Linked DNA regions of Homo sapiens: regions 2, 3 and 4 are each linked to region 1. The links are contacts of gene promoters, found by promoter capture Hi-C in blood cells and fetal thymus (Javierre and others, 2016). All regions are on one chromosome and are shown on one strand. Each heading gives the region's core, a stretch centred on a gene start or on the middle of the fragment in contact. The rest is flanking DNA. Distances are from core to core; before and after follow the strand shown.

What was found. The method cuts DNA at HindIII sites, captures the fragments that hold promoters and counts their contacts. A CHiCAGO score of 5 or more calls a contact.
Region 2: a fragment that was not itself captured here is called in contact with the fragment with the promoter of ARHGAP18 in region 1 in 1 of 17 cell types (monocytes); the score reaches 5.1 in monocytes.
Region 3: a contact is called between a fragment that was not itself captured here and the fragment with the promoter of ARHGAP18 in region 1, in 1 of 17 cell types (erythroblasts). The highest score is 6.0, in erythroblasts.
Region 4: a fragment that was not itself captured here is called in contact with the fragment with the promoter of ARHGAP18 in region 1 in 3 of 17 cell types (M0 macrophages, monocytes and M1 macrophages); the score reaches 6.0 in M0 macrophages.

What each region holds. Positions count from the first base shown.
Region 1 is chr6:129,704,855-129,711,471 of GRCh38, forward strand. ARHGAP18 (Rho GTPase activating protein 18) reads right to left here and starts at 5,323. Exons shown (of 15, transcript NM_033515.3): 1 at 5,170-5,323. The coding sequence starts at 5,282. RefSeq lists a silencer at 5,597-5,676. The HindIII fragment of the contact is 10,321 bases long and covers 419-6,617 here.
Region 2 is chr6:129,487,137-129,493,431 of GRCh38, forward strand. It overlaps LAMA2 (laminin subunit alpha 2), which reads left to right. Exons shown (of 65, transcript NM_000426.4): 57 at 4,765-4,941; 58 at 5,179-5,347. It overlaps LOC102723409 (a long non-coding RNA gene), which reads right to left. Exons shown (of 8, transcript XR_001743860.2): 8 at 5,346-6,295. Among named protein-coding and RNA genes, the nearest start is that of ARHGAP18, 220 kb to the right of the region's middle. RefSeq lists an enhancer at 3,436-4,635. The HindIII fragment of the contact is 1,601 bases long and covers 549-2,149 here.
Region 3 is chr6:129,931,387-129,938,736 of GRCh38, forward strand. LOC105377999 (a long non-coding RNA gene) reads left to right here. Exons shown (of 8, transcript XR_942986.3): 6 at 6,226-6,338; 7 at 6,455-6,638. Among named protein-coding and RNA genes, the nearest start is that of TMEM244, 74 kb to the left of the region's middle. The HindIII fragment of the contact is 188 bases long and covers 1,739-1,926 here.
Region 4 is chr6:129,892,314-129,898,923 of GRCh38, forward strand. The region is part of intron 4 of LOC105377999 (a long non-coding RNA gene); the gene reads left to right. Among named protein-coding and RNA genes, the nearest start is that of TMEM244, 34 kb to the left of the region's middle. The HindIII fragment of the contact is 2,288 bases long and covers 1,780-4,067 here.

The DNA of each region.
Region 1 (6,617 bases), core at 4,073-6,572:
GTTCTATAAGGTTATCAACTCCCACCTTGCTTTCTTCTTCCTCCCTCCTCCTTATCCTGACCCCTGCAGTCATGCAGGGCTCTTTGCTCTCTGGGTGCTTGGTTTCAGACTTACTCTATCTAGGCTTATGGCTTCTACACTCTCTACCCACTATCTGCCTTAAAAACTCTTCTTCTAATTCTTGCCCCCAGATATTTTGGGGCTCACCTGTCACCTGCTCAGGTCTTTATTTTCCCCTCCAGGCTACCCTCCCTGCACCCAGATGTTTGTCTGGTTTATTTCCCCCCATTACAACCCCAGTATTTAAACAATTGCCTGACACACAGTAAGAGAGAGCTCTTATATGTGGAATGACTGAATGATTATGCTTGCAGAACCAAGGAATGGGTGAGACATGAACAAGTCAAGAACTGAGATAAGCTTATAAAGATGATAGTCCTCTTCCATTTGGCATGCTGGGCAGTAGTAGTTCTTAAAGCAGAGGAAGGAAGCATGGAGACAGGAGTGAGTCCAGCTGCCAAAAGAGGATCCACCCACATTCTATCTTGCCATAGAGTCAATATTTGCAGACCTCAATGCCCATCAATACCCCCCAAGAAAGGCCTGGTATAGGCAATTGTTACCAGTTCAAATCATAAATGGTGCTATGGATCAGGATGATATTTCCAAGGTCTTTCAAACTTCAAAGGCCTAAACTTTTACATTATGGTTCATTCTCAAATATGTCATTTTTTAAGCATATGGATAATGCCCATGTTTCTTAACACATGACAAAATAATATTCAGAAAAACGCTTCTGAAACAAGGGAGAATATTCTATATCCTGCAAAACTCAATCCTTTCTTTCCTTTTCTTTACCTAGTATTAAGGAAAGTAGCAGCTAGCTACAAACCAGACACTCTTCTATGGGCTTGACAGAGGTCATCCCACTCAGTTGTCTTAATCAGGTGAGTAATATTATGAAGTTCAATTTATGGGTAGAGAGATAACTCCTCCAAGGTCACACTGCTAATGAATGAGAGAGCTGGGATATGACCCCAGACAGGTTGGCCCCAGAACCCAGGGTTTCTGGGTTTATGTCACCCCTGTGTAGTGCCTCTTGTTTCTGCCTACCCAATACCAATGGCAAGTTGGGTCAACAAGACCTTACATGATGAATGCCATACATTTATTCAGAGAAGGCATAAAAATATCTCACTCATCAGTCCATTCAGTTAGCTAAGGAATTAAAAGGCCCAATAAAAAAGGTTACTTGACATTCATATTAAAATATTAGCAAAAAATATGCAAAGCAAACAACCATTTCTCTTAAAATGGGAAGGTAAGAGAGAACAGTAAGAATAGACAAAACACAATATTCTTCGAAAAAATTCTTTTCAAAACTAAATATTAAGAAGCCTGCTTGAAAAACAAGTAAACAAAGTCTTATAAATATAGCTACTCATAAAAAGTGGTTTCCTTTGGAAACATTCAACTGTGTACAAGTCGGCCATGACAACTAATGTTAACATATTTCTTCAAATCCTCATGTTTTGAGGAGGAAACATACAAAAGAAAAACAGGATTCTATAAAGGGAGAGGCTCTAACCAGGAGTGGGAGGAATTCCTTAATCTGACATTCAATGACTGTTTTCTGATAAAGAGGGATAATGGAATGGAGAAAATTTAGCTAACAAATTACTTCCAAAAATATTAATTCCCTACTATCTCAGCTTTTCAAAAGACCAAATGGTAATAAAAAAGGACATGGAGCCGGGTGCAGTGGCTCATGCCTGTAATCTCGGCACTTTGGGAGGATGAGGTGGGCAGATCATCTGAGGTCAGGAGTTCGAGACCAGCCTGGTCAACATGGTGAAACCCCGTCTCTACTAAAAATACAAAAATTAGCCAGGGGTGGTGGCACTCGCCTGTAATCCCAGCTGCTTGGGAGGCTGAAGCAGGAGAATCACTTGAGCCTGGAGACGGAGGTTGCAGTGAGCCCAGATCGTGCCACGGCATTCCAGCCTGGGTGACAGAGTAAGACTCTGTCTCAAAAAAAAAAAAAAAAAAAAAAGACTTGGTATGGCTAGGCTAAAAATCAAACACTTTCAGGCTGGGCGCAGTGGCTCATGCCTGTAATCCCAGCACTTTGGGGGGCCAAGGTGGGCAGATCACCTGAAGTCGGGAGTTCGAGACCAGCCTGACCAACATGGAGAAACCCCGACTCCACTAAAAAAAAAAAATACAAAATTAGCCAGGCGTGGTGGTGCATGCCTGTGGTCCCAGCTACTATAGAGGCTGAGGCAGGAGAATAGCTTGAACCTGGGAGGCAGAGGTTGTGGTGAGCCAAGAGTGCGCCATTGTGCTCCAGCCTGAGCAACAAGAACAAAACTCCATCTCGAAAAAAAAAAGGAAACAATTTTCAATAAATACGCTAAGTCATACACATATGTATAAATGGCATTATAAAGACATGAATTCATCTCATGAACTAAATATTGGATTAAATATTTCAAAGAACATATTACTTACAGACAAAATCTTGTGATAAGAAAAGTTATACTTCCGTGCTATCTTCTATAATTTTTAAATGGGTAGGAGGAAATGCAGAATCTAATTTAGCTTTTATTTTTTATTTATTTATTTATTTTTTGAGACAGGGTCTCACTCCCTCACCCAGGCTGGAGTGCAGTGGCGTGATCTCAGCTCACTGCAATCTCTGCTCCACCAGCCTCAAGTGATCCTCACACTTCAGCCTCCTGAGTAGCTGGGACCACGGGCATGCACTACCATTTCTAGTTTGTTTGTGGTTTCTTGTTTTTTTTTTTTTTTTTGTATTTTTGGTAGAGCTGTGGGGGCGGGGGTCTTTTTTTTGCCCAGGCTGGTCTCTAACTCCTGAGCTCAAGCAATCCACCCACCTCAGCTTCCCAAAGTGCTGAGATGACAGGTGTGAGCCATCACACCCAGCCTAATGTAGCCTTTTTAAGAGTTTTGTTTTGTTTTTACTTTTTGGAGAACTTCTTTAAATAGGCATCAACCATCAACCTTGCACCTTGGAGCAGCTTCCCAGGGCTTAAAACAACACCTGACCAACCCAGCCAAAGCCAAAGCCAAAGTCCAGTTCACCGCCCCGAAACCACTATCACCATTCTTAGGTGGTCACCGAGGACCCCATCCCACCTTCAAATCCTCCTTCCTTCTATCCATCCCCTCCCCCATAGCAATTACAGTATCTCAATCCTTTCAGGCTAAACAGGGTATCTCCCAAAACAACAACAAGTTTATCTGATTCGTTAGCCCTTAAGGGTAAAAGCCATTGAAAACTAGCCCTACTCCCTCCTTCCTCCCTGCCCTCAAACCAGGCTCCCATCTTCTCCGGTCAATATCAGGAACGATCCCTAGAACTAATTCAGTGGTGGGAAGTTGGGTCTGGTATGGGCAGGCTACGTGACAGCCAGCAAAGGAGCTCACCTGGAGCTGTGGCCCCACACAGGGCACTTGCCGTGTGGGCAGCTGCCCACCCTGCCACCTTAGTGCCTCTTGGTTCTGCTTCAGCCTAGGCAGAGAATGATCTGATCCTCTCTTATTCTCTCAACCCACTCAAGTATGGGCCACCCACACTGCAAACACAGAATAATGAGTCTCCAGAACTGGAGATGCAGCCCCAGACAAAGGCCTAGAACTCCAGACCTTCCAAAAACTTAACTAATCCCTGGGGTTTGAGTCCTACGTGAAAATGAGAGGTTAGGACTCAGTCCTTAAGGTCCTTTCCATTCTCACAATCAAGATCCAAGATTCAGCTCAGGTCCTCAGGCCATTCAGCCTAAAGTCGGAGAATGTCCTGAGCTTGTATAATTTTGGCAATTTTGACTGACATGTGGAATCCAAGTTATGGCTGGGTATGGGGTTGGTGTTGCAGGCTGCTTTACTGCTTAATGATTACTAATACATTACAGAAAAATGGATGAAAACACTTCAAGATCTCTTGATTTAATGATTTAACATTAAGTCATTTAAAATGATGGAAAATGAAATGGTAACACAGCTAAGGCACAAGCACCAAATCTTTTTTATCTTTGGAAATGAATTCATTCAATGAAATACATACTGTGGATGCTATGTGAGAAACAGTTCCCGTCAGCTGGGAGTCTAACACTGAGTATTACAGCCATTCCTTTGATTTTTCTCCCTCCCTCATATTTGGAGATTTTAAAACAAATGAAAGGCAGCATTATTTCAGCTTAAGGCACAGGCATAAGTCACATAAGAACAAAGAAGGTTTTATTATCACATTAAGCATTGAGGAGGAAATGTGCTTACCGATAACTAATTTAGTGTTCTAGGCTATTAGGTTAGTATTTGCTTCTTGCAATCTTCTAGGCCAATATTTACTATTTATATCTTGATGGAGGTAAAAATGTTCAGCTAGTGAGAAGGTCATTAAGGAGAGAAAGAAAAAAAAAAGCCCTTGGAAAATGGAACAAAGTACACAGATAGGGAGAAAGGTACCCTTTGCGCCTCAGTGGTCTATAGAACATTTGCCCTCTCTGCCTATAAAGTGATTTAACATTAACCACATTTCACTCCAGCAGCAGAGTGCTATCTCCTGACAAAAACTCCTTTTTGAAAGCCTGGGGGAAAAAAAATCCACATACACAAAAGAATGTGAAACATATTGCCACAGGCCAGTGTCTTGGGCTTTTTGCCTAAGAGGTTTGCTTTCAGCAAAGAGAGGGGGGAAAAAAAACACTCTAACAACAACAGCTTGTACAGTACAGTGAACAGCCTCCCTGCTTTTTGGCAGACTTTCCCAGCGAACAGTTCCAGTGGCAGTGCCTTGAGCCCATTCAAGAATTCCATTTCATAGGAAAGGAAGTGTTTCAGATAGACCTATTTGATCTTTCAGCATGTGCAAATGCACCTGCTAAATAGCTAGTCTGACAGCCCATATAGCCCTCTCCCCAGTTCCTTCTTCTCTGTCTTCACCAGTAATCATATGGGTTATTTCAGACTTGGACTAGGTGAGATGAAAAGTACATAAAAATCACGCCAAACGTTGCTACTGCTGCTGCACGAGCTCAGGCTCGACGTGCAGATGGAATTCCCTTCTCCCCACGCCAACTTCCCTGTCACTTTCTTCCTGGAGCAGGTAAGAGGGTTTTGTTTTGTTTTCAGCTTCCGAAGGCTTACCTCGAGGTGGCTTCCTCCCCTGCCTTTGCATGGCTGTTCCCGACGGTCTGGTCCTTGCCGCTGGGGTGGTAGGCTGTTAGTACCACTCCCTGGGAACTGGAGAGCCAGCTCATGGTGAGAGAAGGGACATACTTTCTGCGATCCTGACACAGAGAAGGGGAAAGAAGTTCCTGTCTCGCCTGGCAACTCGCTCATTAGCATTGGCCAGCTCCTCCCCGCAGGCTGGCGATTCACACGGGGAGGGGCGGGGTCTGTCCAGGGAAGGGCTTCCTGCCTCTCCAATTAGAAGCTGCAACTCACAGCATGGTTTCAACTCTGGACAATTGCACTCTGGGCGGCTTTGGTTAAAGGAGGCGAAGGGTGGAAGCGACGGGTTGCACCCACCCCCAAGTTAGTCTGATCAGATTAAACTGCCAGAACGTATATTCAACTCATCACTGTAACTACAAGCCGTCTTACTTAGGAAACCATGAGTTGCTGCCAAGGCTTTTTTTTTTCCCTCCCCAATTCCTCTATCTTATAATTTCTGCTACTTAATGTAACATGAGTAAAGGCATTTCTTAACCCCTTCATGTTCAGCGTTAAAATTAGCCATAGTAAAAAACAACGAACCCGCGGCAAAACTCTGCAATCCAGACGACGAGAAAGGCTTGATCCTTGTGTCCGGTTAAAAATGCCCTCATAAAAATTGTGTGTCCTGGAATGTCGTCGTCTTTCACATAAAGCCAATCTCAAATATACGTCTTGTTTTAGCAAAATATTTTTCAGCACCAAAAAGGGATAGACCTACCAATGCTCTGTTAAGTGTTATTGCTGAGAACAAGAGAAGTCCCTGCCATTTGTTGAGCACCTACTATATGCCAAGCTCTCATGGACGGGGGTTTCACATGTATTATCTCATTCCATTCAATTCTCTCTCTCTCACACACACACACACACCGTACAAGATAGGTATCACTATCATCTGTGTTATACATAACACAAGGAAAGTAAGGCTGAGGGACGAGTTAAGTAACTTCACTAAGATAACACAGTTGCTAGTGCCAGAAGCTGGATTTGAACAGAATTCTAGGCTACATTCCTTTTATTTTTCACCAGTATGCTCTTCTTTGTTTTGCAGATTAAGAAACAAGATCAAAATTATCATAAACACAAAAGACAGCTCTGTTCTTTCTCCCCATCTCCCCTCCAAAAAAAAAAATCACTTTTTTGGTTTGTTTTTGAATCAGGGTCTCACTCTGTCACCCAGGCTGGAGTACAGTGGTGATTGTAACTCACTGCAGCCTCAACCTCCCAGGCTCAAGAAATCCTCCAGCCTCAGCCTCCCCAATAGCTAAGACCACAGGCATGCACTACCACGCCCAGCTAATTTTTTTATGCTTTGTGGAGAGGGAGGGTCTCACTGTGTTGCCCAGGCTGGTCTTGAACTCCTGGGCTCAAGCAATCCT
Region 2 (6,295 bases), core at 99-2,598, 220 kb before region 1:
GGTCCCTGCAGAGTGGCTTTCTGAGGGAACAGAATCAAGGGAGGGGAGGAAAATGACTGCTGCCCTGAGCCTGGCCACCTTTTTACAAATCTACCAGAGTGCTTGCCCCAGCCCTGGGCCAGGGAATTGGCTTTACTCATGCACAAACTGATGACTTTCTTTAGAATGCTGCAATACTTTATACTTACTTTATTAGGAAAGTCATCTGTATTTTTCATCAAAATATTGTATGACAACTCAGAGAGATAATTAGTTTAGAAGGACAATTAGAGAAAAAAGAAACAGAAGCCCAGAGACTTCAGGGGTTCAGACCTCCAAGCCAGCAATCCATTTATCAGACTGAAGACATAGAAAAGAACTGGAAATCCAATTTGATGAGGCCTCAAAACACAGAGGATACTTTTAAATGCAACGAGTATGAATATGTAGCAGTAGTTCAGCCAAGCCAATACTATCCTGCAGTGAAAGACCTACATTTACTAATTATCCTCTTGGGGAAAACATTTAGATAAGCAATAAAGATTTCTTACCTTCTAAGTAAACAACAAAGCTTTCCTCAGTTTTTATTATTATTATTATTAGGTAGAGGATTAGGCTGTAGGATGAATTGATACAAAGCGTTCATGCAGAATGGCTACTGAGACGTTTAGAAACCATGATCGAGACAAATGAGGGATCATTTATTTGGACAAACTGAGAACTTTTACTAATCTAACAGCCAGATATTGTAGTCATGGTCTCTGAGGAGAAATGCAAACTGAATGCTCTCATTTGAATCTTAGAATGCTTTAGAATCCTGGTTTCACATGTCTTCTAGATTAGATGTTAGGCCCTTTGACAAACTTTAATCCTTTTCATTGCGGAAAGGACTTTTTAAAAGATTTAAACTTTAGCCGGGCGTGGTGGCTCACACCTGTAATCCCAGCACTTTGGGAGGCCAAGGCAGGTGGATCATGAGGTCAGGAGTTCGAGACCAGCCTGGCCAATATGGTGAAACCCCGTCTCTACTAAAAATGCAAAAACATTAGCCAGACATGGTGGTAGGCGCCTGTAATCACAGCTACTCTGGAGGCTGAGGCAGGAGAAATGCTTAAACCAGGGGGACAGAGGTTTCAGTGAGCCGAGATCGCACCACTGCACTCCAGCCTGGGCAACAGAGCAAGACTCCAACTCGGAAAAAACAAAACAAAACAAAAACATTTAAACTTTAAGGAATTTCAATAAGTAACTGCAGATTTGAGAAATTAGTTTACCGAAATCACTCAAAATGTGTTATTTTGTTGAGAAAGAATTCTGGAATTCCCAAATGCATTACACTATTGTACCACTATGCCACTATGTCCTTTTAACAGGTGCTTCTTCAAGAAGGGCATTTTATTATGCCAACTTCACAGCTGTTGACCATCAATCCAACCTTTATTTGATTAAGCTCAGTATATAGTACATCACTGGAAACCAGTCATTTAGTTAATTGGCCATATAAACGAACAGTTTTGCCATTCATTGTTAATTACAGGATAATATATGACATATTAGTGTGTAGTCACTGAACTCTGTGCCAAAACAGTAATACATTTGCTACCATAATGGCTCATTCGGCACTCTAAGGTTAAAATGCAATCTACTCTATAAGCAAGTGCCACATTAAACTGATTGACCAGAGATCGCAAGTGACCATGAGAACTTCACCCAGAAAAAATTTTTAATGCTTTATATGCCTATTCTATGGCATGATTTGTGTCACATACTAGACAAAGATGATTTGTTTTCATTGTTCTGAATGTATGTGAGATCTGTAATAACATCCTTTCATCACAGATGAGAAAATATTAACTAACCTGCCCAAAATCATGTACTACAAATAACAGGACCAGGTATTAAATGAGATGATATATTTGACTTAAATACCTCCATCTATGCACAGCCAATAGATTATTCTTACATTTTTGTGTGACCATAAAGGTTTATATTACTAAATGTTGATTATGATGTATGATTATTAATTTGGAGATATTTGCATTATCCCAACACTTTTCAGATTTTCAGACTATGCATGTCAGTCATCATTTCTTTTCCTAAAATCCTGGACAAAATGATAGCTTTAATACCGCCTCACAAAATAATTGGATTTTCACCAAACTGGGGGCCAAGCTTCTCAAGAAGCTCCTTCTCCCTTGTCCTCTGCCTCTCTTTACTCCTCCTCCCTCATTCTCTCTCCCTTCCACCCCTTCATCTGGAAAAATCTCCCTTTAGTCACTTTGGTATCTAATTTCTTGGCACTCCAGTGACCTCTGCCTCCTATATCTGCTTTGTCCTCTGATCCTTCTCCTGGCATCCGCCTTGGTGGCCAGCAGTTCTTACTGGACAAAAACATCAAACCCTAAGAGCCTGAAGTAGTTACTTAAGCAAATAGGACAAGCAACTGAACTGAGTTTTTCTTCTGGGAAAGCTTTCTTCACACAGGTACAGAAATAGGCTAAAGGTCAGGAAGTAGGGTGAGATATTTTAGGAGTCATTTGGGGTTTCCAGAATGAGATAAAGATTTTAACACTGAACCCTAAATATTTTCTTTCTTAACATCCAAAGTATGTTCAAACAGAAAAAAGATTAGATTCTATTTATTATGTAAATTACAAACATTAGGACACATTTCTCTTAATATCTTCTTCCACGTATGCAATCCAACTGATATGGTTTTAAAAAAAATCTTAAACCCACATTCCAAACAAATAAGAAATAGGGTATAAGTAATCAAGTAATTATGAAACTCTAAGAATCAGCCACTGAAACTGTAAAAAAAAAAAATAAAGCTGACCTATTACAATACTAAAGTAATACAAAGTTTAATGTACCTTTTTGCACATAGCAGGCCTCAGTAAAAAGCTGTTAAATAAATACTTTTTAAAAATGGAAAACACACCAGAATCATAATGGACATATTGGCAATGTCCTTCTCAATAAAAACTAAAGAAATGATCTAGATTTGATGTTCCTAAAAGGTAAAATAGGAGCAGGATTTAGCTGTAGTTTTCTAGCAATGCCCTTTTTAAGTAATACAGCCTCAGGGCAATCCCTTAATTAATATTTTCCGCTGTTTGAAGTAGGTATTTTTATCTCCATCTTATAAATGAATGAAATGGACCTGAGCATGATTAAATAACTTGCCCAAGGTCACACAGCTAGTAAGCTTCCACACTAGTACTTAATTCCAGTATGTTCCTCCTGAAAGCCCACACTCATTCTCCATCACCACCCTGTGAATTGGTTTAAAAAAAATAAGGGTCACTATGATGGTCCTTGTGGCAGAACCACACTACAGAGAGAGGCTACACCAGAAAGAGGAAGGCCTCTAGCTTTTTAAAATTCTAATCAAGAACAGAGATTTACTCTCCTTGGACAATCTTTAACAGAGGCTTATATCCTTCATTAAAACCTTAGAAGCCCTGTGATATCATGTTGCTAAGAAGAGGCTGCTTTCAGCTAAAGGGGAAAAAGAGTGTAGGGGAGGGGCTTCTCAGTGAGTCACACATACCCGGAAGTGAGTGGTTTTCTGAAATTCTCGTCTCAGGAAACCACCGACACTCTTAGCAAGGAAGCTGAACCTCCTGGGTTTTGCCAACACATTTTTCCATAGTTTGGTAAAGAAAGAAACCTCAAAAGTATGTCATTTCCCCCTATTTTCTCTTTGAAACTAAATTTTACCGGTCCCTTCTTCACCCCCTTAACAGTGACGTTTTTGAGCCACAGCGAAATCCATTTTTTGTCCCTTTCTCTTACTTTTGAATTATCTTACTTGTAAAGTGCCAATTCAGAGCATCTTTACCCTGGCTTATTGTTTTTTCCAGTTCTACATGTGGTTTTACTTCTTTATAAAGTCAAGTAAGAGGGTACTTTAGGACTGAGGTTTCCATCCAAGTACTCCGGTTTTCTCTCCAGATATGAAGTAAGTTTTCAGTAATCCATTCATGATCCCCAGGCTAGTGACTAATGCTTATGACTAATAGCACCATGATGACTGTTAAGACCGAAACTCAAAACTTGCTTCCGGAACAAAAGAGAAAATGCCTTTGGTCATTTTCATCAGAACTCTTTGTCTCCTTCTGATTCTTGGCCCAGGGATCCAAGGATTGTTGTAAATAAGTAGCATGAGGTTCTCAATTAGCAGTGTGTGAGTTCTCTCTCATAAGCAAATTAGGAAAATTAATGAAACAGCCACTAAGGAAAATCATTGCAAGGAACAATTAGCAGGGTGTCCTTGCCTGCCTCTTCTATTCAAAAGCCATCAGCTACATTCTTTATAAAAGGTGCTTTAAGTGTTTGCTGTTGATTCCTGCAATCTAAGCTCTCAGGAGCATGGTTTGTTCCCTAGCAAGAAGATAATAGCCAGCACAACCCAAGGAAGACCCCATGCTTTGCTAAACCTGCCAACCCTTATACGGTTAGACATTACTGCACACTGCAGAAGCCTCAGTTCTCACAGGCTCATGTGTTGGGCTGCACAGCGCTGTTGTCAGCTCTACAAGAGGCTAATGTTGCAGTGCGCCATGACCTGGTTTCAGTAAACTTTCAGGAAGAGTGAACGAGGGAGTCATGGAACGAGATCCTGAGAACAGCGTTTGCTTAGTGTAGAATTCCTAAGCATCCAATTTTGGCTCCCTTAAAAGCTATGGTTGAGAGGGGTGAAGGGTGGCAGGAAAGAATTTGATTTCCAACTGTATTGAATCAGATGTGACTTATACTTGTTTATTTTTAATATTTTATCAGCATCTTTACAGTTCAAGTGGATGAAAACAGAAGATACATGCAAAACCTGACAGTTGAACAGCCTATCGAAGTTAAAAAGCTTTTCGTTGGGGGTGCTCCACCTGAATTTCAACCTTCCCCACTCAGAAATATTCCTCCTTTTGAAGGCTGCATATGGAATCTTGTTATTAACTCTGTGTAAGTGGATCTCCTCATTACTACTACTAATTTTTTATTTTTATTTCTTGCTATTAGGGGTCCCAATGCATCTACATTGTCTACAGCTATGCAGGGGAGGAGGGAAACAATGAGGATCTTCAACTTAGACTGAGAAAAGCACACTAATGGACTTAAAAAGGCATGCGGGGATTGGGCTTAATTGTAAGGAAGCAAAAAAACGAAAATAAAAAAATCTTATTTATTACATTCTATTAGCCCCATGGACTTTGCAAGGCCTGTGTCCTTCAAAAATGCTGACATTGGTCGCTGTGCCCATCAGAAACTCCGTGAAGATGAAGATGGAGCAGCTCCAGCTGAAATAGTTATCCAGCCTGAGCCAGTTCCCACCCCAGCCTTTCCTACGCCCACCCCAGTTCTGACACATGTAAGTGTTTATATTATCCCCATTGCTTTCTAATTTTTACCCAGTATTCTGAGTCATTTCAGAAGGAAGATTATTCAGGATATCTAGTACACTCTGATATTAGAATTGAAAGAAATATAACCTATCTAAACCTATTCTTACATCTTCATTGAATGACTTACCTATATTTCCATCTTCAATTTTGTTTACAAAACAGTACATTTTCAGTTGAAATGTTGGAAAACACAGAAATATCCAGAATCATGAATAAAAGACACTTATAATACCATGACAGAGGCAACCATGTTGGTTTCCAGGCCCTTTTATCTGCATAGTAGATGTCCTACCTTGTATACAATTTGGTGTCCTGTTTTTAGAAACTAGTAATACACCACTAAAACTGTTTCTAGGCCAGGCGCGGTGGCTCACGCCTGTAATCCTAGCACTTTGGGAGGCCAAGGCAGGCAGATTGCCTGAGCTCAGGAGTTCGAGACCAGCCTGGGCAACCACGGTGAAACCCCGTCTCTTCTAAAATACAAAAAAATAGCCTGGCATGGCGGTGTGCACCTGTAGTCCCAGCTACTCAGTAGGCTGAGGCAGGAGAATCGCTTGAACCCAGGAGGCGGAGGTTGCAGTGAGCCGAGATCACGCCACTGTACTCCAGCCTGGGCAACAGAGCGAGACTCCATCTCCAAAAAATAAAAATAAATAAATAAATAAAAACTGTATCTAAACATCATATAAATGTGTATGTCTAATATGATTTTATGTTAAGTATATATACACACAGAGACACACAACTATTTTATAGTATTGGAGGTCATATAGCCTTGATTAGAGCATGGGCTCAAGTCAGACTGCTGGTATTCAAATCCCAGCACTGTAACCGACCATCTGTGTGAATTTGGGAAAGCTACCTGTCCAATCTATTTCTCAGTTTCCCATCCAAGTACTAACCGGGCCCAACCC
Region 3 (7,350 bases), core at 583-3,082, 220 kb after region 1:
AGAAAACAGACAAACAATAAAGAAAATTAATACAGATAAAATTTGGTTCTTTAAAAAGACAAATAAAATTGATAAATCTGCATGTAGCCAAACTGTTGAAGGAAAAAAGAAAGATAAATTATTAATATTGGGAGTAAAAGAGATAATATCATTACTCCAGATCCTACATACCTTAAGGATGATAACGGAATATTATAAATAACATTACACCAATAAATTCAGTAGTTCAGATGGAATAGATGGATTTTTTGACAAAAATAGTTTACCCAAACTGATACCATATGAAATAAAATCTTTTAAAAATACTATGAAATAATAGTAACAAACAACATGAATATAATAACAAATATAGGGTTATAATAATTATAATATCTGAGTTGTCTTACATCTATTAAAATTTTTAATTACTTATCAGAAAGTTTCCCACAAAGGCCCAGACAGTTTTACTGGTGAATCCTATCAAACATTTAAGGAAGGAATAACAACACTCTTACATAAACTATTTAAGAAAATAGAGGAAAAGAATACTTCCCAACTTGTTTTATATGGCTACCAAAGCAGTGATACCAAAATCTGACAATTATGTTCAAAAGAGAAAAAAAGAGGCCAGGCCTGGTGGCTCATGCCTGCAATCCTAGCCCTTTGGGAAGCCAAGGCAGGCAGATCACTTGAGCAAAGACCAGCCTGGGCAACATGGTGAAACCCCATCTCTACAAAAAATACAAAAATAAGTCAGGTGTGATGGCATAAGTCTGTAGTAGCTAGTTGCAAGGCTGACGCGGGAGGATCACTTGAGCCCCTGAGGTTGAGGCCGCAGTGAGTTATAATCACGTCACGGCACTCCAGTTTAAGCGAAAGAGCGAGACTTTGTCTCAAAAAAGAAAGAAGAAAGAAGAGAAAGAGAGAGAAAGAAAGAGAGAAAGAAAGAAAGAAAGAGGGAGGGAGGGAGGGAAGGAAGGAAGGAGAGAAAAAGAAAGAAAGAGAAAGAGAGAGAGAGAGAGAAAAAGAAAGAGGAGGGAGGGGAGGAGAGGGAAGGAAAGGGAAGAAGGAACAGGGAGAGGAAAAGGAAGGAAAGGGGAGGGAGGGGGACATTAAAGAGAAACAAAAAAATTACAGACCAATATTCTTCATGTATGTAGACACAAAATTATTTTTAAAATATAAGTAAATCAAATCTTGAAATACATGTAAAGGATGATACACTATAACCAAGAGGGGTTTATCCTAGGGCTTCAATAAATGAGAGAAAAAAATAAATGTAAAATAGGTGAGCAAATCAAATGTATACGGTAAGATGGCAAAAGTAAATACAAATATAAATAATTAAATGAAGGTAATTGACCGAATATTAAAAAAAAATTCGGACTTCCAGAATGGACTAAGAAACAATAACAACATACCTCATAAATGCAATGTATATTAAGAAAACAGCAACCATATGTAGTTTCCTATATATAACAAAACAGAAAAGTTGAAAGAATGGGAAAAAAATCACACAAATTAAATAAAAAGAAAATTGGTGTAACTCTACTACGGGTTGATTATCACTTATCTAAAATGCTTGGGACCAGAAGTGTTTCAAATTTCAGATTTTTTTGAATTGGGGAATATTTATATGTACATAAAGAGATATCTTGGGGATGGGACCTGAAGCTAAACACAGAATTTATTTGTTTCATATACACTTTATACACATTGTATTTTGTACAATGTTATTAATAACTGTGTGCATGAAACAAGCTTTTCACTGCATTTTGACTGTGACCCATCACATGAGGTCAGGTGTGGAATTTCCTACTTGCGGTGTCATGTCAGTGCTAAAAAACTTTAAGATTTTGGAGCATTTTAGATTAGGGGTACTCAGCCTGTACTAGCAATGATAACAGACTTTAAGCCAAAAGGCAGTAGTAGAATTAATAACAAGAAAGCTTCAATTCACTGGGAATGTTTAACAATTCTAAATTCATATGTACCTATAATATTTACATGGCCTCAAAGTATATAAAACAAAAATTAACAAGAGCTACAAGGAGAAATAAAAAATAATGAATATTTGCCTCATTTTCTCACTTGTTTTTAATTCACTGAATTATGTTGTATTTTGTGCTCATTTGTTAGTTGGTTTGAAATTTTTTTAGGACAAACAGGGATACAGCTTAATTAATTGATTTTAAAACTCTAATAGTGAGACCTCACCTAAATTATTAAAATTTATCATCATGGTCCCTAATCCCCTTCTGAGAAGGAACTGGAAGTGTGTTGTCTTGGTAAGAAAGCCCCTCCTTTGGGCCTAGGACCTCTCAACAAATGCTACTTTTTAATGAGACTTTCCTCTTTTGGTCAATAGATTACCCGTAAATTAATTGAAGCCTTAGGCCTTGGATATAAAGCAAGTAATGTGACTTCATTAAAATACTAAAGTTACAGTGACAATACTATCTTTGAAATTAAATGTAGGAGTTGCATCTCTTGTTTTTATTTTCATTTTAAATCTTATTTATTCTTTTATTTGCTTCTTTTGAAGTTTATTTAATGGTAATGCACACAAGAGATACAAGGTTGAAAACACATGAATGGAAATATTTTTTAAAAATTCATCTCTTTGGCCTCCGCTACCCAAGCCCCAGTTCTAAATTGTACAGGTAACCCATGTTACAGAAAGTTAGACTACCCAACAAATGTTCTTCACCTCGCTTTTTTTTTTACTATTTACCCTAGTCACTATTTCATATCAGTTTATCGAGTGGGTACCACATTTTTTTTAATGTCCTGCATCCTGCATAACATTCCTGCATGGATGAAGCACATTTATCTTACCTGCCCCTTTGCTATCACAGACAGCATTGCAATGAACAGCATTGTATACATACCTTTGTGTTCTTGCTGGAGTGTATTTAAAGAGAAAATTTTATTAAGTGAGTTGGGTAAAACGGTACAAATGTGCGTTTAATTTTGATAAACATTGCCAAATCATCCCATAGTTAAAAGTTCTACAAATGTACTCTCCCAACAATTACTGAACGTGCTTGTGCCCCTGAACTCTTGCCAGAACGGTTTATTATTACAATGTTTATCTTTAGCATTCTGATTGGTGAAAAATAGTTTCTTGTTGTCATTTCAAGAAGGACTATTCTTATGAGGGGGTTGAGTATCTTTTAAAAATACTATAAAATAATATTAACAAAAATATGAGTATAACTAATATAGTGTTATGATTATAAACACAATAAATCTATCATAAATATGAAATAAGTAATATAAGATATACTATTTGTCAAAAAAAATTGCATTACCAATCAGATGAAAGCCACTGTATACCCTTCCCTAGTTGAATTTCTCTATCTCGTTATTTCAGAAGTATTTGCTACCTTGAATTTAACATTTATCATTTTCAGGTATTTATGTAGATCTTGCAACACATTTATTTACTCCCAAATTACATATATTTGTGTATATGTGTGTGCATATAAGTAGTTGGCATGTTTTTAAATTTCATATAGTGTCATATTGCAAGTATTCATCCTGCAGTGTGCTTTTTGTCCTCGACATTATTTTGTGATAATTCACTCATGATATTTATGCAGCTCAGATTCATTCACTTTCTACTGCTCAGTAATCCATTGAATGAATATATAACCATTTATTTATTCTACTATTGATGGTCCATTTAGGCTGTTTCCAATTTTTGCTCTTTGTGACAATGCTACTATGAACATCATTGTAAACATCTCTTCATCGACATAGGAGCAGACCTGCTGGGACCTGCTGGGTCACAGGGTTTGGATTCTTCAGCTTTACTACATATTGCCAAGTTGCTTTCAAACGTAACTGTTCCAATGTATGCTTTCATCAACAGTATAGAAGAGTCCTCTTGCTTCACAGTTTTGCCAAACTTGGCTTTAGAAAATATTAATTTTTTGCCAATAGGATGCATTTGAAACAAAATTTCTTACAGATTTAGTTTTCATATGCCTGATTATGAATAAGACTACACATCTTCACAGATGTGTAAAAGCCATTTGTGTTTTTCCTTATGTAAACTACCTGCTGTGGTGTTAGCTCATTTTTTTCTATTAGGTTATTGTTTTTTGTCTTATTTTTAATTGCTTTGTAGAAAGATTTTTATTTTAGGAGATTAGGTACCTGCTACCTTAACTATCATTTTTTACCATCAATAGTTTTTCTAGATTTTCTTTTTTCTTGTGTCCTTATTTATAGTACCTTTAAAACCAACTATTTAAATTTATATATTTTATATATATTTACATAAATATAACTTTATATAAATGTGATCACATATAGGCATTTTGTATGTGTGCAATGTTTTTCCACTTTTTATGTGGTTTTCTCCTTAGTCTCTCCTACTTTTCCCCTCATGTGGCTTCCCTGTTCCCCCTACAAAGATAACTCATATTATAAACTTTACATTAATTATTCCATACTTTTACTGCATTCAAATGCCTCTATACGACTTGTACATTTATGTACATACTCTGCAGGATATTTTAATTTTGTCATTATTTGGTTTATAAACATGCAATTATGCTAATACAAATTTTTTTTGCTTTTTATATTTTCATTTAACAATACTTTGGGAAAATACCTCTAAGTAAAACTGTGTGATTCTAACTCATTTTTCTAATGGCTCCTAAATTTTGTTGTATCAACAAAAATTTTGCTAAGCAAAAATCACAGCATAGAAAGTTACAGGGACCTAAAGAAGGAAAATTGTACTTAGTCAAGATTTTATAAATATATTTTGGATATGTATATGCATGAACTTTAAAGTGACATTAAGAGGTACATTTTACTCCATAAAATTTGTTGTTGTGGAAATTAAATATATGAATGTATATGTACTTCTTTTGCTTATATACTTATGTATCTATATTATATATAATTTTGTATATGTATTACATAAATATATTTTTTATATATTAGAGATACCTATCATATATTATATATTTATGATATTTATTTATATTATTTATATATCTTATATGAGGTAAATATATATTTATATATTACATAAATGTATAGTATATATAAGCATATACTATATATGTGTAATATGTGTATACTATATATTGTGTATATATCTATACACACACATAGAGAAAGTGAGAGAGACAGAGAGAACAGAGCCAAGTGATAGGAAGTACACTCTATTCCTGGCTCAGTAACAGACTGTGTGGAAGTGGGGGAATAATTTCACTCTGTGGACTTCAGTTATCTCTCCTGTAAAATGGAGGATAGAGTCAGGACATAGACGGCTCTTCCGACGAGGTCAGAGTTCCTCAAGGCAATTTAGGAGGAATCCAAGGTTTGCCAAGGCTTTGCATTCACCAGCTGACATGGCGCCACCACGTGGTAATAGTGTAAACAATTTAAAATGTATTGGATCCGTCAGCTTTTAAACATGATTCATCAATGTTTAATTTGAGGAATTAAGATTATTTAAACTTTGGTGCATAAACTGAGACTTTATTAATATGTTTATTTTTCACTATTTGAAATTTGCATAAAATGTGACTACACTGTATAGACAGGGAAGTTTTGAAATCTAACATTGTTTCTGTAACACAGAGTAACAACCAACTACATTTAAAAATGGGGAAAATATGATAATAGAAGAATTATTCACATCAGAAAGTATATTTTAAACAACAATATACAACATCTTTAATAGCCATATGGTTAAAAAAACTTTTCAAAATGCCTAAAGTTCCTGAAATTAGTTTAGTGAGTGGGGTAAGCGCAGAGTTGGGTGAAAAGACACAAGAGTACCTCAAGAACTTTTATTGTTAATATTATATTATCGTTTAGACTTCAAAATATTTGGGATTTACACTAAACTGAAGCACATTACACAATCTAGTAGTGAGATAGTAAGTAGAATCAAAATAGAGTATCAATTTTGTTTATTTAATATTTACATACGTATTGTCGTTTATTGAAATAACTGTATCAACTCTTGCTGCTTTTAGATATTTGATTCGTTTTTTTAGTAAATTATTAATTTTAGTACAGTTTTAGATTCACAGAAAATTTGCAAAGAAATGAATTTCCATATACCCCGTACCCAATTTTCTATGTTAGCATCTAACATTACCATGGCTCATTTGTCATAACTAAATAACAAACATTGATACATTATTATTAATTAAAATTTGTACTCTATTCAGATTTGCTTAATTTTAATCTAATGTTCTTTTTCTGTTCCAGGATGGCATATTACATTTAGACATTATGTCTTCTTGTGTTCCTCTTGGCTGTGACAATTTCTCCGATTTTCCTTATTTTTGAAGGCTTTGGCAGTTTTGAAGAGTATTAGTCAGGTATTTTGTTGACCGTTCCTCAATATGGGATTGTGAGATGTTTTTCTCATGATTGGACTGGGGTTCTGGTTACTTGGAAGGAAGACAACAGAGGTAACGTACCATTCTCTTCACAGAACATCAAGTATTCATACTGTCAACATGACCTGTTACTATTAATAACCATGATCTTCTGTTAACCTTGATCATCTGGCCAACGTAATGTTTTCCAGATTTCTCCATTGGAAAGTTACTCTTTTTCCCACTTTGCCTGTAATACCCTTTGGAAGGAAGTCACTATGCAAAACCCACACTTAAGAGGTAGGTAGAGAGCTATACTCACTTCCTTAAGTAGGAACTATGAGCATAAGTTACCCAGAATTCCGTATATTTGTCTCTTTTCCACATTTGTTTATTTATTCAGCTATTTATATTGGAAGAACTCATGAATATTTATTTTATACTTTGGATTACAATCCGTTACTACACTATCTATCTTGATGCTCAAATTGTTCTAGTTTGGGCCATTGGGTGTTCCTTGAGGTTGACTTCTCCTTTCCCTTTGACACACTCCCATCGTTTTGGTTTTGAAGCACTTCTTTACTTCCTGACACTACAAGATGCTCCAAGCTCATCTTGTATATTTCCTGCCCCAGTCTTAGAATCAGCTATTTATTCACGTTCTGGTTCATTTCATTTGAGAATGGTATTAGAAACCAACCAAGATGTGGGCACGAGGCGTGACTTTTGTTGACTTTGGATCCTCCCTCTGTATGTATTTACATAAACGCTTTCCTCTCCATGTCCTGATCATCTTAAAACTGAGCTTGTTTTAAATAGAGCTTTGAAATTTTTAAGAATAGTTTAGTCAATAAGACTTCTTGCACTCTTGCTAACTATTGTTTCAATTATTGCTACTGTTAACACCACTACTCCACTAATGGTAAAGTTTGTCACTCTCAAATATGAATTCCGGATAAAAGCTTTCTGGAGAAAAATATATGAATTATTTACGCACTTTTCCTCACTACAT
Region 4 (6,610 bases), core at 1,674-4,173, 190 kb after region 1:
GAGGTTAACGCAAAAGGATAGCAGAGGGGAGTCTGCCTAAACTACTGTTTTGCGAAACGGCCATGAAAGGCTAAGTTTGCAAAACTCAGGATGTTAACGGCTTTTGCAGGAACAAACATCATTTGGTCAAATAAGTCTAAGAAATACGAAGTTCGGTGAAGTCAAGCAGGCTTATTTATTTAATGCAGGCCATCTCTGAGACTTTAATGTGCTCATGCTCTCTGTGAGTTTGCAAAATGGAGAGAGTAGGTGGTGTCCCTACAACAACACCATCTTTTCCTATGGAGCAATGCCCGACATCTTTTTTTTTTTTTTTTTTTTTTTTTTTACGAGGGGGGAAGCAGCCAACATTTGAGAAATGCTGACCCAAACCAAGTGGGCCAGCTATTTCTCTCCTTAAATATCTCTGGGGTTTTTGTTATTGTTGTTGTTAAATCTCTGTTCTCTTTTATTCTATTTCTACCAAGTGTTTGTATCAGACAGTTACCTTTCAGTTCAAAACTTTGTCCATTTAATAACCGTATATTCAAAATCTCAAGACCTGGTGAACTTGAAATATAAATAACCTCAGACTGTTTACAACGATCCCAAACCCCAAATCATCCAACTAAAATAAGTATCTCCTGTACTTCAGAGAAATACCTCCTTTGCTTGAAAGGGAAAATTTCGTTTTTGAAAAAAATACTTTTAAATTTGATTCCTGAATGTAAAACCACCCTCATTATTGTTTGGACCTCACATTTAGAGATTTAGTTGATCTTCATCATCACTGAGTTTTCAGTTCAAGACACATTATCCTCTAAGCCCCTTTTTGAACTCCTAACCTCAGGTGATCCATCCACCTCGGCCTCCCAAAGTGTTGGGATTACAGGTGTGAGCCACCGCGCCCTGCCTCTAAGCTCCTTTCTGTTAGCTTAGTCGTTAATTCATTCCTTCACTTGTTCCCTTTTATATCCACTTCATGATTCCATGTCTCTTTCCTCCTACCATTCTAATATATTCAAATACATTAAATACGGAAGTTTGGGATTTTATGTTTTTGTAAAACGTGGAATGTTGTTTTTATATTATTTGTGGAAATTATTTCAGTCCTGCTGCCTAGGCTCTTATGAGATTTTGACTAGATAACTTTTAATAAAATGTTAACAATTAAAACATCACTACTAACTGATTAACTCTTTTAAGTTACATAGGTGAACATACGCATGAGATAAGTCAATTTAGTAGCTATGTGTATATATTTTGCCAAGCAATACTGAATGTAAAACCGAAAACCAACACATCCAAAGAACATCCTAGTATTATTTGCTAAAAATTGAAATGTTCATTTTATCATTCTCTACATTCTTCTTGCAACAGGAAATGACTTCTGAATACACTGCCTCATCTATCATTGTCAAGGATTAAATATGAACCAAATTTGCAAGGTACTTTTTTTAAAGTTTGCTAGAGCAGAATAATGTCATTGTCAACACTTTTAAACACTTTATGACTTTGGAATCTTTCCTTAAAAAAAAAAAAAAGCACATTGCCAAACTAATTAGAATTGGTCATGAATATTAATGTTTGAGTTGAAAACAACTGCCACTAGGTGGCAAACAATCTACACATAGACTTAAACAAAAGAGAAAATTATAAATGCACTATATCATATATGCATATTAAATGAGACAGTGCAAAATAGATGGTTAATGCAGTATCTTCAGCATATTGTTAATAATATTACTACTTGGAAACAAGCCTAACAGTACAGTGCCAAATGTACTTTTTGAGGAGTTAAGCTTTCTTTTGTCTTAAGTAACATTTAAAAGAAAAGAGAAAACAGAATGAGAATAGCAGATACTGACCTTAAATTCTAACATTTGTCATTATTTGGAACTGGAACATGGACATTTATTAAGTATCTCATCTGTGCTCTCCAAGTTAGGCATCTCTCTCTATGGTTGAAAATACACTGATGATGAAACTCTATAGGCCTGAGAGACCTTGAACTTCTTGTCCTTGGGCTTTCTGTCTGGCTTCATGGATTCTATATAGTCATCAATTTTTATACCATGTTGGATATAGGAGAGAGAAAGCACTGCTGGGATTTTTCTTTCTCCATCTGATGCAACCTTCTTGGGAATAGGAGAGATGATGCTATGTGAATAGACTTCAGTGCTAGACTGCTAGGTTTGAATATTAGCATAATTTCTCACAAGTTGTGTGCTGTGACTTTAATGTGTCCCCCAAAGTTCATGTGTTGGAAGCAACAGCCTGAAGAGGTGGGACCTTTAAGAAGTGATTAGGGCTGGGTGTGGTGGTCCATGCCTGTAATCCCAGTACTTTGGGAGGCCAAGGCAGGTGGATCACTTGAGGTTAGGAGCTTGAGACCAGCCTCGGCAACGGTGAAACCTCGTCTCTACTACAAATAAAAAAATAAAAAAATTAGCCGGGTGTGGTGGCGTACATTTGTAATCCCAGCTACTCAGAAGGCTAAGGCAGGAGAATTGCTTCAACTTGGGAAGCGGAGGTTGCAGTGAGCCGATATTGTGCCACTGCACTCCAACCTGGGTGACAGAGTAAGACCCCATCTCAAATAAATAAATGCATAAATAAATAAATAGTGATTATGTCACAAGGGCCCTGCAGTTATGAGTGGATTAACACCACTATTACAGGAGTAGGTTCCTGATAAAATAAGTTCAGTCCCTTCTCCCCCACTCTCCAACTTTCTCTCATGCACATGCCCTCTTTCCCTTCTGCGTTCCATCATAGGATGATGCAGCAAGACAATTCTCACCAGATGTGGGCCCCTTGACCGTGAACTTCCTAGTTCCAAGACTTTCAGAAATAAATCTCTGTGCTGTAGAGATTACCCAATCTCAAGTATTCTGTTATAGCAGAACAAAAGGGACAAAAAAAGACAGCGTAACTGTGACAGACTATTATTGCTCCTGAATAATCATTTCTCCTTCTTCTAAGGGGATGATACTTCTTTGTTCTATTGACCTTGTTCTTGGCCATGAGTGTGCTCTGGCCAGTGGTATGTGAGTAAACATGGTGTATACTATATCTAGCAAGCAGCTTCAAGATCTGCAGTGGGTTTCCACCATCTCTCTTGCTTTTACCCTCTTCCAAGGAAATGATGTGTCCCCTCAGAAGAGGGGGCTACTCCTTCAGCCTGGGGCCTGGAATGAGAAGACCCACAGAGAAGAGCTAAGGAAAGTGAGGTGCAGCCACCAAAATAATATATGTGAGAAATAAGTATTTATTGTTAGAAGCTATTGGAATTTTGACGTTGTTTCTTATTACAGCATTACCTAGTGAAAACTGACTATGGCCCTTAGCTTATTAACCTGTCAAATGAAGCTAATAATATTATTCATCTCACAGGACTTGGATTGAATGAGTTAATACACAGGAAGAATGTAGAATAGTACATAACATTATGGAGGCTAGATATTATTATTAAAATAGTCTAAATGCATATGCCATAAAAGATTACATATATTGAATGACTAATAGAGACCAGGAATGTGTTACTCATGATTTTATTCAATTATACAGTATCTTTCTAAAGTATTGACATTCCTGTTTCATAGAACAGAAAACAGAGACTCAGAAAGTCTCTTAGTTCAGTGAGACTTTCAGTTCCTAGTTCAGTGTGGCTAACTTCCAGTTTTTTTGTGTGTATGTTTTTTACTCTGAATCAGTCATGAACTAATGGTTTTAGAAAATATGAATAACATTGAGTTATTAAAAAATAAATAAAATGAACAAAGTTTAAAAGACATATAAGATATAATTCCAATTTTTTATTATTAGATCCTGTAGACATAAAATTATATTTTAATTAATGCCATTGGAACAAATGTTAAAAATGAAAGAATTACAAAAATTATCCATATTATTCAGTGAAAATATGTATGTAGACAACTAATACAGAAAAATCACTGTTTTGCCAATAACTTTTTGTCATTTCACAATTGTAACTAAACAAAAATATGAATGAAAAGCAACTTCCCAAGTTAAACACTATTTACATACATTAAACTACCCACATACAGTTTTTAATGTGACAAGTAAGCTTGCTTCTTACTTGTTAACATATCTAATCTACTTTAATTTCTTTTTTTTTCCCTTTCTTTCTTTTTTTTTTTTTTTTTTTGAGACTGGGTCTCACTCTGTCTCCCAGACTGGAGTGCAATGATGCGATCATGGCTCACAGAAGCTTTGACCTCCTGGGCTCAGTGATCCTCCCACCTCAGACCCCAAGTAGTTGGGACTACAGACATGTACCACCACACCCCACTAATATTTTATTTTTTGTAGAGATGAGGGTCTTGGGGGTCTCACTATGTTGCCCAGGTTGGTCTCAAACTCCTGGGCTGAAGCTATTCTCTGGCCTCTTATGGCTGGGACCACAGGCGTGTGCCACCATGTCTGGCTTTTTTTTTTTTTTTTTCGGAGAGACAGAGATCTCACTTTGTTGCCTCGGCTGGTCTTGAACTCCTGGCCTCAGATGATGCGCCATCCTCGACTTCACAAAGTGCTGGAATTGCAGGCGTGAGCCACGATGCCAGACCTACTTTAATTTTAACAACTGATAGTAGAGAAACAAGTCTCACAAAGCTATGTTAATGGGAATGAAACAAAAGATTTTAAGGCAGTTTCAGCAATCTCAGGATATTCATTTTAAATTTTTATCCAAAATGAAACAAATGATGCTGTATATTCAGAATTTCTATTTTTATCAGAAGCCAAATTCAATAATTTACTCTGTAAAGTTACAGTTAAGTTCAAATTATTTCTTAATGAAGGAAATAAATTCTAGATTGAGCACTTTTGGGTTATCATTGGCAAACTAACTTTGAGACATTGTGTTGTAAAGGTTCTGCTGCAGACAATTAGTAGGCATCTTTGAGTCCATGTAGCGTGAGTACATGTAGAACTCATCATGTGATTTCAAGAACACCTAAACTGTTCTATATCTGCTGAGTAAGATGAGTTAACTGCTCCTCGTTGAATGTGTCAACAAGCAAGTGGTAGAAACAGATTTGTTTGCTGGTCTCCTCCGTTGTGTAAGGTTTTTCCTCTGTTGGAGGTTGTTACCCTGTAAGCAGATCACCTGAGATATGAATTATATTTGTTCTACTACCTATACTGTTTAGCAGGACCAGTGGCTAACCATACCCTGAAGCCAGCCTTAGAGAGGATAATTGTCTTAATAAAAACATACAGTTGACCCCTGAACAACTTGGGGGCAAGGAGCACTAATGCCCTGCAGTTGAAAACCCTCAGATAACATTTGACTCCCCCCAAAATTTAACTACGAATAGGCTATTCTTGACCAGAAGCCTTGGCAAAAACATAGTCTATTAACAGATATTTTGCATATCATATGTGTTATATGCAGTATTCTTAAAGCAAAGCGAGCTAGAGAAAAGGTTATTAGTTATTAAGAAAATCATAAGGAAGAGGAAATACATTTACTATTCATTAATTGGAAGTGGATCATCATAAAAGTCTTCATCTTTGTTATCTTCATGTTGAATAGGCTGAGAAGGAGAAGGAAAAGGAGGGGTTGGTCTTGCTCTCTCAGGACTGGCAGAGGCAGAAGAGGTGGAGGAGGTGAAAGGGGAGGCAGGAGAGGCAGGCGCACTTTATGTAACTTTTATTGAAAAAAATTCGCATATAAGTGGACCTGCATAGTAGTTTAAACCTGTGTTGTTCAAGGGTCACGTGCACACACACACACACACACACACACACACACACACAGTTATATATGCATACACATACATATGTTTATATATCACATATACATATATGTTGTGTATACTTATTGGTTAAAGTGTGTATTGTACCAAATATTGCTGTCTGCATTTCAAACTCAAATAATGACTTTTAGACCTCACTTCTTTGAATTGTAAGTACAGTTGCCATGCTGTATTGTAGGCACTTTGATGACAGAAATAAAATTTGAAATGTTTCTGGAAATCTGTATTCATCTATAATTGATTGACTGGTCAATTGGCTGGCTCGTTAGTTGCCTTGGTTACAGCATTCAAATATTTATTGGCTACCTGGTCTAAATAAGATCAAATTACAATTTAATTTCCAGTATGAGAAAAGAAAAGATGGTTTTTCCATAAAAAATTAGACAACCATGCAATTCTAGGGATCAGCCCGTAAGCACAGGCAGAGGAATTTGGATAGAACCAAAAGATATAAACCTTAGTTCCTTACTCACAGTAAGAAATAGGGCATTGTTTTCAGTGCCTCAGTTCTGGCCAGACATGGTGGGTGGCTCATGCCTATAATCCCAGCACTTTGGGAGGCCAAGGCTGGAGGATCACTTGAGCCTGGGAGTTCGAGATCAGCCTGGGCAACAAAGGGAGATGCGCCCACCCCATCTATACAAAATACTTTCTTAAAAACTAGCTGGATGTGTTGGTGTGCACCTGTGGAGCCAGCTACTCAGGAGGATAAGAGAGGATTGCTTCGGTCCGAGAGGTTGAGGCTGCAGTGAGCTCTGTTCACACCACTGCATTCTAGCCTGGGTGACAGACTAAGACTTGTCTAAAAGTAAAATAAAATAAGATAAATAATAAAAATAAAAATGGAG